Linked DNA regions of Homo sapiens: regions 1 and 2 are each linked to region 3. The links are contacts of gene promoters, found by promoter capture Hi-C in blood cells and fetal thymus (Javierre and others, 2016). All regions are on one chromosome and are shown on one strand. Each heading gives the region's core, a stretch centred on a gene start or on the middle of the fragment in contact. The rest is flanking DNA. Distances are from core to core; before and after follow the strand shown.

Region 1 (3,284 bases), core at 785-3,284, 3.8 Mb before region 3:
TCTATCGTTTATCATCCAACAGGGTGCTGGGACAGGGCTTGGAAGGAAAGCAGGAAAGGTTTAGCAGTAAGAAAGAGTGGCAAGAGAGGTAGGGGGCGGGGGTGAGGTGACTGGGGACTCAGGGGAGGGCTGCAAGTCAGCTGCAGAGCAACAAGCACCCAACCTCAATTCTGCACCCAGGGAACAAAAACAAAAAAGGGAAAGGGGAGCCCGGCATGACTGACACCCACTTGGTGCCAGACCCCATTCTAGGGGATTCTGCATAGTATGGTGGTTAACCTTCACCATACCCCTGAAAAAAGCTAACAAAGCTCAATGAGGTTAAGGAACTTGATCACAGACCCACAGCATTTGAACCCCAGTCTGGTGCCAAAGCCCATGCTCTTTCCACTGCTCCTGGGTTAAAAGGACTTAACAGGGAGCCCTTCCTATCCCCAAACCCCTTCGCTTCCCCACCTAATCCCACAGCACCCCTTCCCCAGTTTCTAACAGCCCCAGAAGGACCTGGAGGCAGTATGGGATGATTATGCCTTGAAGATGACAGGTGTCAGCTTTTGACAGCTTTAGGTTGGTATGGCAATGAGGTGGTCAAGGAAAGGGGTTGGAACCTACTGTAGGGGCTGGGCTGACTTCCATCAGCTGGGGATAGCTGCTGATTGATAAGTCCTGTTGGGATGCTGTGACTGAAAGCTGTGGATGCTTAAGTTCTCCCTCCTCCCTCCTCCCCTGCACCTCCCTCCTCTACCCCCAGCTTGTTCCAACTAAGTGTTTCCTGGTGAGGAAAATGCTTCAACAGCCTTGGCTGGCTGAGGCAATTAAATTATGAAATTTACCACATTAGATGAAAACCAGCATCTCAATCAACCAATTCATTTGTGTCTGGCCACTCTGTTTTCTTGTGCCAGCTCTGCCCACACTGGCCAGGCTATGCCTACACTGCCTGGTGGTACAGAGGGACTAGGGGCTCAGACAATGGGCTGGTCTTTGGGACCAGGGGGTAGGTTCTCCCAGGACCCCCAGAGAAGAGAGGCTGCATCCAGAAGCCATCCAGCTTCCTACAAATGCGCTGGACTGCTGACTGTGCGGCCAGACACTACGGACGAGAGCAAACCTTCTACCACCTCCCACTTGCATTCTCCATGGCCTCAACCTGTGCCTATCTTGAGGCTGGCAATGAATTGGGCCTCTGGGAGAAGTGTGGGTGAGCGACAGGACAAAGGTGGCTGCCCTACACCTCGAATCTGGGCGATGACATGCCTTTCTCATCTTAGTCAAGGCATCCTCTCCCCAGGAAGCCTTGCCCACCTGTGTCTCCTTCTCTCCTCTTGCTGCCTCTATCACTACGATGTGTCAGGGCCCCTAATCCATGTGCCAGCACTCCCTCATCTAGGTGCTCACTAAAGGAAGAGTCTCCAGCACCTAACTCAGGGCCTGGCACACAGCAGGTGCCCAATCAAGTCTGTTCAAACAATGAATCAATCAATCAATCAGTCACAAACCACCCACTAAATAACACTCTCACTCATCCTACCCTTCCCCCCGCCCCCGCCCAAGTGATAGACGGGACGAACCAAGCTTGCTTTCACTGGGTAATTGTTCTCTTTTCTTCCTGCTCTCTTCTGCCCACACGGGGTGCCCGCAGATTTAAAACGCTATTAAGGGGCATCGGGCTGCAGAACCTGCTTCCGATGTGGAGCATGCAATTTGCCTATAGCTCTTCTCTCCGCACCACATACATAAATCCAACTGCAGCCCAAGACCCCAGGATGAAGGTGTCTTCCATTTCTACCTCCCTTTTATCAACCACCCTGGAGTCACTGCCTGACAAATGACTCAAAACTGAAATAGCTGCCAGGCCGGAAAAAGACTGACTACGTCAACCTTCACAGGCACAGCTTGTGGACCCAAGAGCCTCCGGTCTTGGGACACCAAATGGACCCTGAGGTGGGGTAGACTTTGTGTCCTACTCTTCCCCAGACCCCCACGCAAGCCTTCACCAACATGCCAGGAATCCTCACAGCTCAGATCAGCACACTGAGCATCAGTTCCTCCTATGAATGGGGAGACTGGGACCCAGGGTCCCAGAGGGCTTGGCCCCATAACGGTCACTGGAATCTGGTCCAGGATACAGACCGTGGAATCCTGCCTCCTCTCCTGGTGCTACTGCTAACTTCCTTCCCTTCCTCTCTCTATTGGGCCGATAGAGTGGAACCAAATGGTCCAGACACCTGGCATTCTCTGCCCTGACTACCGAGGAGAGTCAAAGTCCAGCCCGCCTTCCCCAAGGTCAAATTCACCGGGATCCAGCAGGACCCAAGAGCGTCCAGATTAAATCTGCAGGGGCCTGGGTCCGCCCCCTCACCCACAGTTCGTTGGGTCAGGCCTCTAGAGAGATGTTTCTTTGTTCAAAGACAATGGGAATGCACTTTGGGGGCTTAGAGCAGCAACACAAAAAAAGTATCTGGTATCTCCCGGGCACAATCCCCCAAGAGAAAAGCTTCTAAAGCAACTACGAAAGAGACAGGGGGAGTGGGGGCGTAACATCGCGCGGTGTGTCTCGGAGCCAGGGCAAGTGTGGTAATTAGAGTCAGGCTAGAGGGCTTGCTCTGGACCTGCCAGTCTGGCCGCCACCCAGGTGGACAGGTGGGTGTGCCTTTGAGTGCGACCTTTCTCTGCCGCTGGACAGTTCTGCAAACCGAAACGAGGGACCCTGGCAGGCGGAACGTGAACGGCTCGGGGCTCCGCGGCCAGGCCCGCGCAAACCCTCCCCTTGTGAACCCCGGGCCCTCGCTCTGCGCCAGGCAGGCAGCCATCCGGCCTGGGCGTCCAAGGCGCGGGGCATCGCCGCTCGCGTCCTCAAAGACAAGCAGTCTCTCTTTCCAGGATCAATAGTAATTTTTTAAAAAAAAGAGTCTGCGGACTCAATGAATCAACCACTCCCTGGGGAAAGAGTAGCGGCTCCCGCGCGCAACATCCATTTGCCAAACAATTCATTCCCTCGCGCAGAGCTCTCGGCGAATTCCCTCGCGGAGCCGCGGGGTGCCGGCCGGCCGCCGCTCCCCACCATTGTCCCAGGGCCCCGGCCCCAGCCGCGGGGCCCCCTCCCGGGACACGTAGTCCCGCGGGGGCTCCGAGCGCTTGGTCCCGGCCCGGCCCGGGGTGGTGAGTCCCCAGCGCAGGGAGCGGGGGCGCGGGTGCTGCGGCCAGAGCACGGCGTCCCCGCCCGGCCTGGATACTCACTGCCGGAGACGATCCCCGCCGCCGCCGCCGCCTCAGAGACCACT
Region 2 (3,166 bases), core at 139-2,638, 3.3 Mb after region 3:
ATTTGATTGATATTTGTAAAATTTCTAAGTATTTAAAACAAAGTTCTAATGATGGACATACGAGAAGTATACCATACTTTTTATCTGAATAATTTGCAGCTTGGGGATAACTTAAGTAACATCAAAGAATGAAAACGGGACTGTGTGCACACAAAGAGTTCAGTGTGTTCTCCACGGCACCACGTTAGCAATTTATCTTAAGAATTGAACGAGTTTATTAAATTTATCTCCAAATCGTCTGCCTTTGAGCCAGATTTATTTTTATAACCTGAGGTGCGGGTAAATCCTACAATTTTCAGGGGCGCTTTACCAGATATTCTAAAAGGCTGGGGATGATTAGAAATGGCATAATGCAGTTACTTGTGTACTAGAACAGGCAGTTTAACTGGCAGCCATTTTATGACGCTGATAATACATTAAAAAACGGGATTTTGGAGAAGACTGAATCTAAACTAATAGAAATCTGAAATACCAAAGCCTATTTCCTTCCCCCTCTCTGCTCTTCTGGGGAACTCTGGTGCCGACATAAAAGGCAGTTCGATAGGGCACGCAGCAGCTCTTTGAGCCCCTGGCATCTTGATGCAGGTCCAGCTCAGTCACAAAATGGCTGTTCCTTTGTGCCGCAGCGCTGACAGACATACTGCATTGCACTGTGTACTCGCCAAACAGCAGGAAGTTGCCGTGCCGAGTTCAAAGGCCGGCCGGCGCCGGCGCGGGGTGCTGATTGGCTGTGCGCGCGCCTGGTAACAGCAGGGTCAACGGCGGCGCCTTCGGCAGCCTCCGCCCCGTGACGTCAGACGGCTCCCCTGGGGGGCGGGGAGAGAACGCAGTGACGTCTGGCCGCGTGCGCATGTCGGGCGCTTTCTCCTCCCCCTACCCAGGGAGCCGCACGCCGAGGGGAAAAGGAAGGGAACTCTAGTTGGGACTTTCCGGTGGGCGGCTTCTTTCCTGGACGCGTTTGCTCCTGGCAGTCTTGTCCGCCCTTGCCTGTAGCGGTCCGCACCCTGTAGTGTGTTCTTTTGCCCATTTCCGGGAATGGTTTATCCTCTTTGAGAAGCGGCTGCTTTTGGAGAAAAAGTGCAGGCACTATTTATAAATTTTAAAGGCACTATTTGGAAATCTTAAAATAGAAAATTTGCCCAGTTTTACATTTTCCCTTTTCATACCTTAGCGTCCCTTCTCCCCGCCCCCGTTCAGTGTGAAGAGATGAGTGGGTTTAATTTTGTTACAATTGACCAAAACGTTTGAGTGTCAGAGGCGGATACTTTTATTTTAGTGAAAACCTCTTGACGGGTGTTAACAGCTGTTTAATACATGGCTCATAAACAAAGGGAAGATTATTTGAACTTGTCCCCATGCGTTTTTACTTGGTACCGTACATTTTCTCAGTTGGCATTTGATGGAGAAAAACTCAGGTCAGTATGTGCTAAGTACTATATATTTAAGATTCACAGTGGGATAGTTTAGTAGAAAATAGAAAATTTCACGTTCAATAACATTAAAAAGTGGCAGAATACAGCGTTAGGCAACCATTACTATGTAAGTAAATGTCAGAAAACTACTCTTTTAAGTGTTAATAGCACTTGCTAATGCAGGGTGACTGACAGCTTGGCTGATAGTGGGGTCACTTGGCCAAATCTTCGCAATTATCTTCCCTAGGCCTCCATTTCGGGAATTCTGAGTCCCGGTAAACGGTTGGGTTTATGCTCACTGATTTGCCTTGTTTGGAAACCTTTACAAGGATTTCTGGTTAAAACTTCATCGTTCAGCAACGATGTCTTAATAATTAAATTACACATACTGAATTTAAGCAAGCAAGAAATTCAGTGGATTTATCTACTGTGGACAAAGTTTTTTTCCTGCCATACTAGAGTTTTTTTAGCAGTTGGAGTAGGCTGTCCTGTAGTTAGCCATAGTTTAGAGTTATTTTAGTAAAGTGTGTTACTTCAAAGGAGATGTTGACCCTTCAGTGCAGGTGATATTTGCTTGGGCGTATGTCAAGTTTCTGAATACAGTCTGTGAAAGTTAGAATTCACTATGATAGTGAGTTTTGTAGGTTCTCATAATCTAGGTTCTTTGGGAAGAATTATTTGGATAGTTTGTGAAAACTAGCTGAAATTGCTTTTTCTGTTACAGAGAAGTGTTCATCAAATAATTTGTACCTGATTTTAAAATTATATGCTCAAATGTATATTGCGTATAAAATGCTAACAGAGAATTAAGTGTTTATAGAACTTGATGAACGTTTAACTGTAGCTTCCAACTTAAAGTATACCTGCCACAAGAACGAAAGTAATAATCTCACCTCCCTTTTTGTGTAGAGACTGAATTCTAATTAGTTGTGTTAATAGTATTTGCTGAATACCTTTCAATTCCTAAAACTGGGGTCAAAGTAGTCAACATTGCAGTTAATTATTTTTGAAGAGGATATGAACTATTCTGTTATTTAAGATATTTTAACCTAAATACCATTATGAGTTAAAATGCATACCATGATATAACAATTTACCTATTAACTGTTGACAATCTTGCAGCCAATTAAGTTTTTTATAGAACCAGTGTTCTTAGGTATGTTTGTTGAGCCTTCTACTTTTTTTCCCTTTGATGTGGGGAATAGCATCAAGCAGCAAGAAAAGAGTGTTGATCGATTTCTCTCTCTTTCTCTCTCTCTCTCTGTATCCTTGCCGTTTAAAATATGCACTTTCCAACTAGTATTTGGCCGTTAGGGAGTTAGTATCTTTGTAAAGATTAAGTCAGCAGAGGAAGGTGGGCAAATAATATTTTTGATAAAGACTTTTGGTTGTGACAGTTGTAGCAAGTTATTGCTTGAGGAGTGAATCTGGAAGTTTATTTGAATTTTAACTAAAACTCACAGATTTTATCATTAGTTTACTCTCCCTTACCCCCAAATAAAACAACTGACAGTTATGAGAGACCTCCTGAGACCACCTGGTATTTCCAAACTCCTATCATTTCTCCCATAAAATTTGATACACTAAGTTTGTTTCTGGTATAAAAATTGAGTGACTGCTCTGTGTCAGCCATTAAATTTTTTCTTGCTATGAGCCATCTTTTTTTTTTTTTTTTTTTTAAGATCCTTTAGTTTTTAGCTGCTTCTTGGTAACCTTAGAACTTTGCTTCCTTGAAGAACTTGGCTTTCTTGATA
Region 3 (3,397 bases), core at 483-2,982:
TAATTGCTGAGGACTTTGATTGGAGAAGCCAAGGCACATAAAGGAAGTTGTAGCCAAAGCATATAAAGGAAGTTGTTCTGTTTCCAGGTGGAAACAGAATTACTTAGCAAGCAGAATTCAATGGTGTGGAGTATTGGATCAATCTCCCTAAACACATATTCAGGTAACCGACCTTCATTTTTTGTCCCCTTCTTCTTTCCAAATACCATATTCCACTGATCCTAGAGGCACATCTCACATCTCTGAAATCAGCCTGTTCACTGGTGTCCAGCAAGAGGAAGTGTAAAAAAGTTTCAAAAAAAATCACATGGAGAGACCATCACAGACAACTTCCGGTACACAATATTATATTAACAGTTTAAAAATATGCATATAAATGCATTTCTATCTATATATAACTTCTATCTATGATTATCTATCTATATATAATTCCTTTTTTTTTTGTTTTGTTTTTTTTTTTTTAGTAGAGACAGGGTTTCACTGTGTTAGCCAGGATGGTCTCGATCTCCTGACCTGGTGATTCGCCCGCCTCGGCCTCCCAAAGTGCTGGGATTACAGGCGTGAGCCACCGTGCCCGGCCTATCTATATATAATTCTATGTATTCTATCTATATAGCGATATATAATTTCTATCTGTAATGCAAATCTACATGTGATTTCTATCTATATATACATGTAGATAGAAAATTTAGGGAATTCACTGCAGGTGCTGCTTGCAGTCCACTTTTAAAACCTAACATTACATAATAAAACACTATTTTAAGAAGCTGCACTAGGCCGGGCTTGGTGGCTCACGCCTGTAATCCCAGCACTTTGGGAGGCCAAGTCGGGTGGATCACAAGGTCAGGAGTTTGAGACCAGCCTGGCCAACATGGTGAAACTCCGTCTTTACTAAAAATACAAAAATTAGTCTGGGGTGGTGGCGTGCGCCTGTAGTCCTATTCAGGAGGCTGAGGCAGGAGGATCGCTTGAACCCGGGAGGTGGAGGTTGCAGTGAGCCAAGATCGTGTCAATGCACTCCAGCCTAGGAGACAGAGCGAGACTCCGTTTCAAAAAAAAAAAAAAAAAAAAAAAAAAAAAAAAAGGAGCTGCACGATGCTCCCCTTGGGCGTGTACCATACCTTATTTAACCATTCCCAAACTGTTTCCATTTTTTCTGATGTTAAATAAACTCTAAGATGTACAGACGTCTTTTATCTGGCTCTCCGATTACCTTCTGCAGATAAACTCCTAGAAGTTACTGGGGCAAAGGGAGTGAACCTTTAATTTTTAATAAAATTTTTTAAATTACAGAAAAAGCCGTAGTCGTCAGATTCTACTTCCTAGGCGGTCCACAGGGATTTCAACAAGTTCGATTCAAACCATCCCAAATTCCCTCCCGGCACTAAGTTTTCCTCGGTCTTGGGAAACGTGGCCCCGCAGTCCGCACTCACGACTGCGCACAAACGCTGGCCTCTTTCCAATGGCGAAACTTCTCGACACGCCCCCGAGGCACCACCTCTTTAAAATTTAAAACGAAGGCCCAGGCCAATGAATGCTAAGCTTCTCTCGGACCACAGAGACCCGCCCACCGTCACTCCCTCCACCAATCAGACTGAAGTTTTCTCCACTGCCCCTCCAATCACCGCCAAAAATGGAAGTTGCTCTCGTAACTTACGTAAGGCAAGCAGCCAATAGGAGCAAACCTTGGAAACTAGCTCCCCCAATAGCAGCAGTTCCTGGAGAGCGCGGGAGCCTTTCGACCAGGGTCCCAAAGGAAAGCAGTGAGTGGTGCTGTTTCCCTGAAGGAAGGGACTAAGGGACGGTGGCGCGGGCCCGGACCGGGGCCCCGGGGCGGCGGCACGGCCGATATGGCATGCTGTCACAAAGTAATGCTGCTGCTGGACACCGCGGGCGGCGCCGCCCGCCACAGCCGGGTCCGGCGGGCCGCCCTGCGCCTCCTCACCTATCTGAGTTGCCGATTCGGCCTGGCCAGGGTCCACTGGGCCTTCAAGTTCTTTGACTCGCAGGGGGCGCGGAGCCGGCCGTCCCGCGTGTCTGACTTCCGCGAGCTGGGGTCCCGCTCGTGGGAGGACTTTGAGGAGGAGCTGGAGGCCAGGCTCGAGGATCGCGCCCACCTGCCCGGCCCGGCGCCCAGGGCCACCCACACGCACGGCGCCCTGATGGAGACGCTGCTAGACTACCAGTGGGACCGGCCCGAGATCACGTCGCCCACGAAGCCGATCCTGCGGAGCAGCGGGAGGAGACTGCTGGACGTGGAGAGCGAGGCCAAGGAGGCCGAGGCCGCGCTCGGGGGCTTGGTGAACGCCGTCTTCCTCCTGGCCCCCTGTCCGCACTCGCAGAGGGAGCTGCTGCAGTTCGTGTCTGGGTGCGAGGCCCAGGCCCAGCGCCTGCCGCCCACCCCTAAGCAGGTGATGGAGAAGTTGTTGCCCAAGAGAGTCCGGGAAGTCATGGTCGCCCGAAAAATCACCTTCTACTGGGTGGATACCACCGAATGGTCTAAGGTAAGGAAGGTTACTGTCGTCTCAGATGGCGTGCACGGTGCTTTCCTTGCTAACCAGAACTTGGCAGCGTCCTTAGAACAGCCACAGACCCCGAATGAGACTAATATGACTATGCGTCCCTTCGGAAGGAAACAAATAAATAGGAACAGTTTTCACAACAAAATGGGTAGTTCCTCACTACCTACTGTTTAAGACCCCTCACAATTTGGGCCCTACCTGCCTTCCCAGACTTGATTTTCCTACACACTACATCTACTCTAGCATATTGAAGTCCAGTCCAGAAAATCAACAGGTCTGGACTGCTTGTTTTGTGTTATGTGTGTTGTTCAATCTGCCTGGAATGCCAGTTCTCACTCTTCCAGGCCAGTCTTAACTTCACTTACCCTTTAAGGCTTCTTCTCCCAGTGACAACTGCTCAGTCCAGCGTCTGAATTGCCATACACATTTTGTGTGGCACTTAACCATTTCTCCATATGTTTTGATTATGCACATCTCTCACCCTCCATCTAGTCTAAAAATACCTCAGAGGCAAGCAGCAGGTTTTAACACAATACCCAGGGGTGTGTGTGTATGTGTGTGTGTATATATATATATATATATATATATATATATATATATATACACACACACACATATATATACACATTTATTTATATACATATATATATTTATTTATTATTATTTTTTGAGACAGTGTATGTCGCCCAGGCTGGAATGCAGTGGCTCACTGCAACCTCCACCCCTCCGGGTTCAAGCGATTCTCATGCCTCAGCCTCCCAAGTAGCTGAGACTACAGGCCCACGCCACCATGCCTGGCTAATTTTTTTGTATTTTCAGTGGAGACCAGGTTCCATGCTGCCCAGGCTGGTCTCAAACTCTGGCCTCAGGCAATC

Evidence for each region. The method cuts DNA at HindIII sites, captures the fragments that hold promoters and counts their contacts. A CHiCAGO score of 5 or more calls a contact.
Region 1: a contact is called between a fragment that was not itself captured here and the fragment with the promoter of TICRR in region 3, in 1 of 17 cell types (fetal thymus). The highest score is 5.3, in fetal thymus.
Region 2: a contact is called between a fragment that was not itself captured here and the fragment with the promoter of TICRR in region 3, in 1 of 17 cell types (fetal thymus). The highest score is 7.1, in fetal thymus.

The regions. Positions count from the first base shown.
Region 1 is chr15:85,791,526-85,794,809 of GRCh38, forward strand. It overlaps KLHL25 (kelch like family member 25), which reads right to left. Exons shown (of 3, transcript NM_022480.4): 1 at 3,241-3,284. Among named protein-coding and RNA genes, the nearest start is that of KLHL25, 1.8 kb to the right of the region's middle. RefSeq lists a silencer at 3,071-3,284. The HindIII fragment of the contact is 922 bases long and covers 1,574-2,495 here.
Region 2 is chr15:92,903,594-92,906,759 of GRCh38, forward strand. All of the region lies in intron 2 of CHD2 (chromodomain helicase DNA binding protein 2), which reads left to right. It overlaps MIR3175 (microRNA 3175), which reads left to right and starts at 806; the gene lies at 806-882. RefSeq lists enhancers at 339-1,538, 400-579, 860-1,099 and a silencer at 650-699. The HindIII fragment of the contact is 5,562 bases long and covers 1-3,166 here.
Region 3 is chr15:89,573,737-89,577,133 of GRCh38, forward strand. It overlaps TICRR (TOPBP1 interacting checkpoint and replication regulator), which reads left to right and starts at 1,733. Exons shown (of 22, transcript NM_152259.4): 1 at 1,733-2,504. The coding sequence starts at 1,851. RefSeq lists a silencer at 1,721-2,010 and an enhancer at 2,132-2,660. The HindIII fragment of the contact is 7,754 bases long and covers 1,541-3,397 here.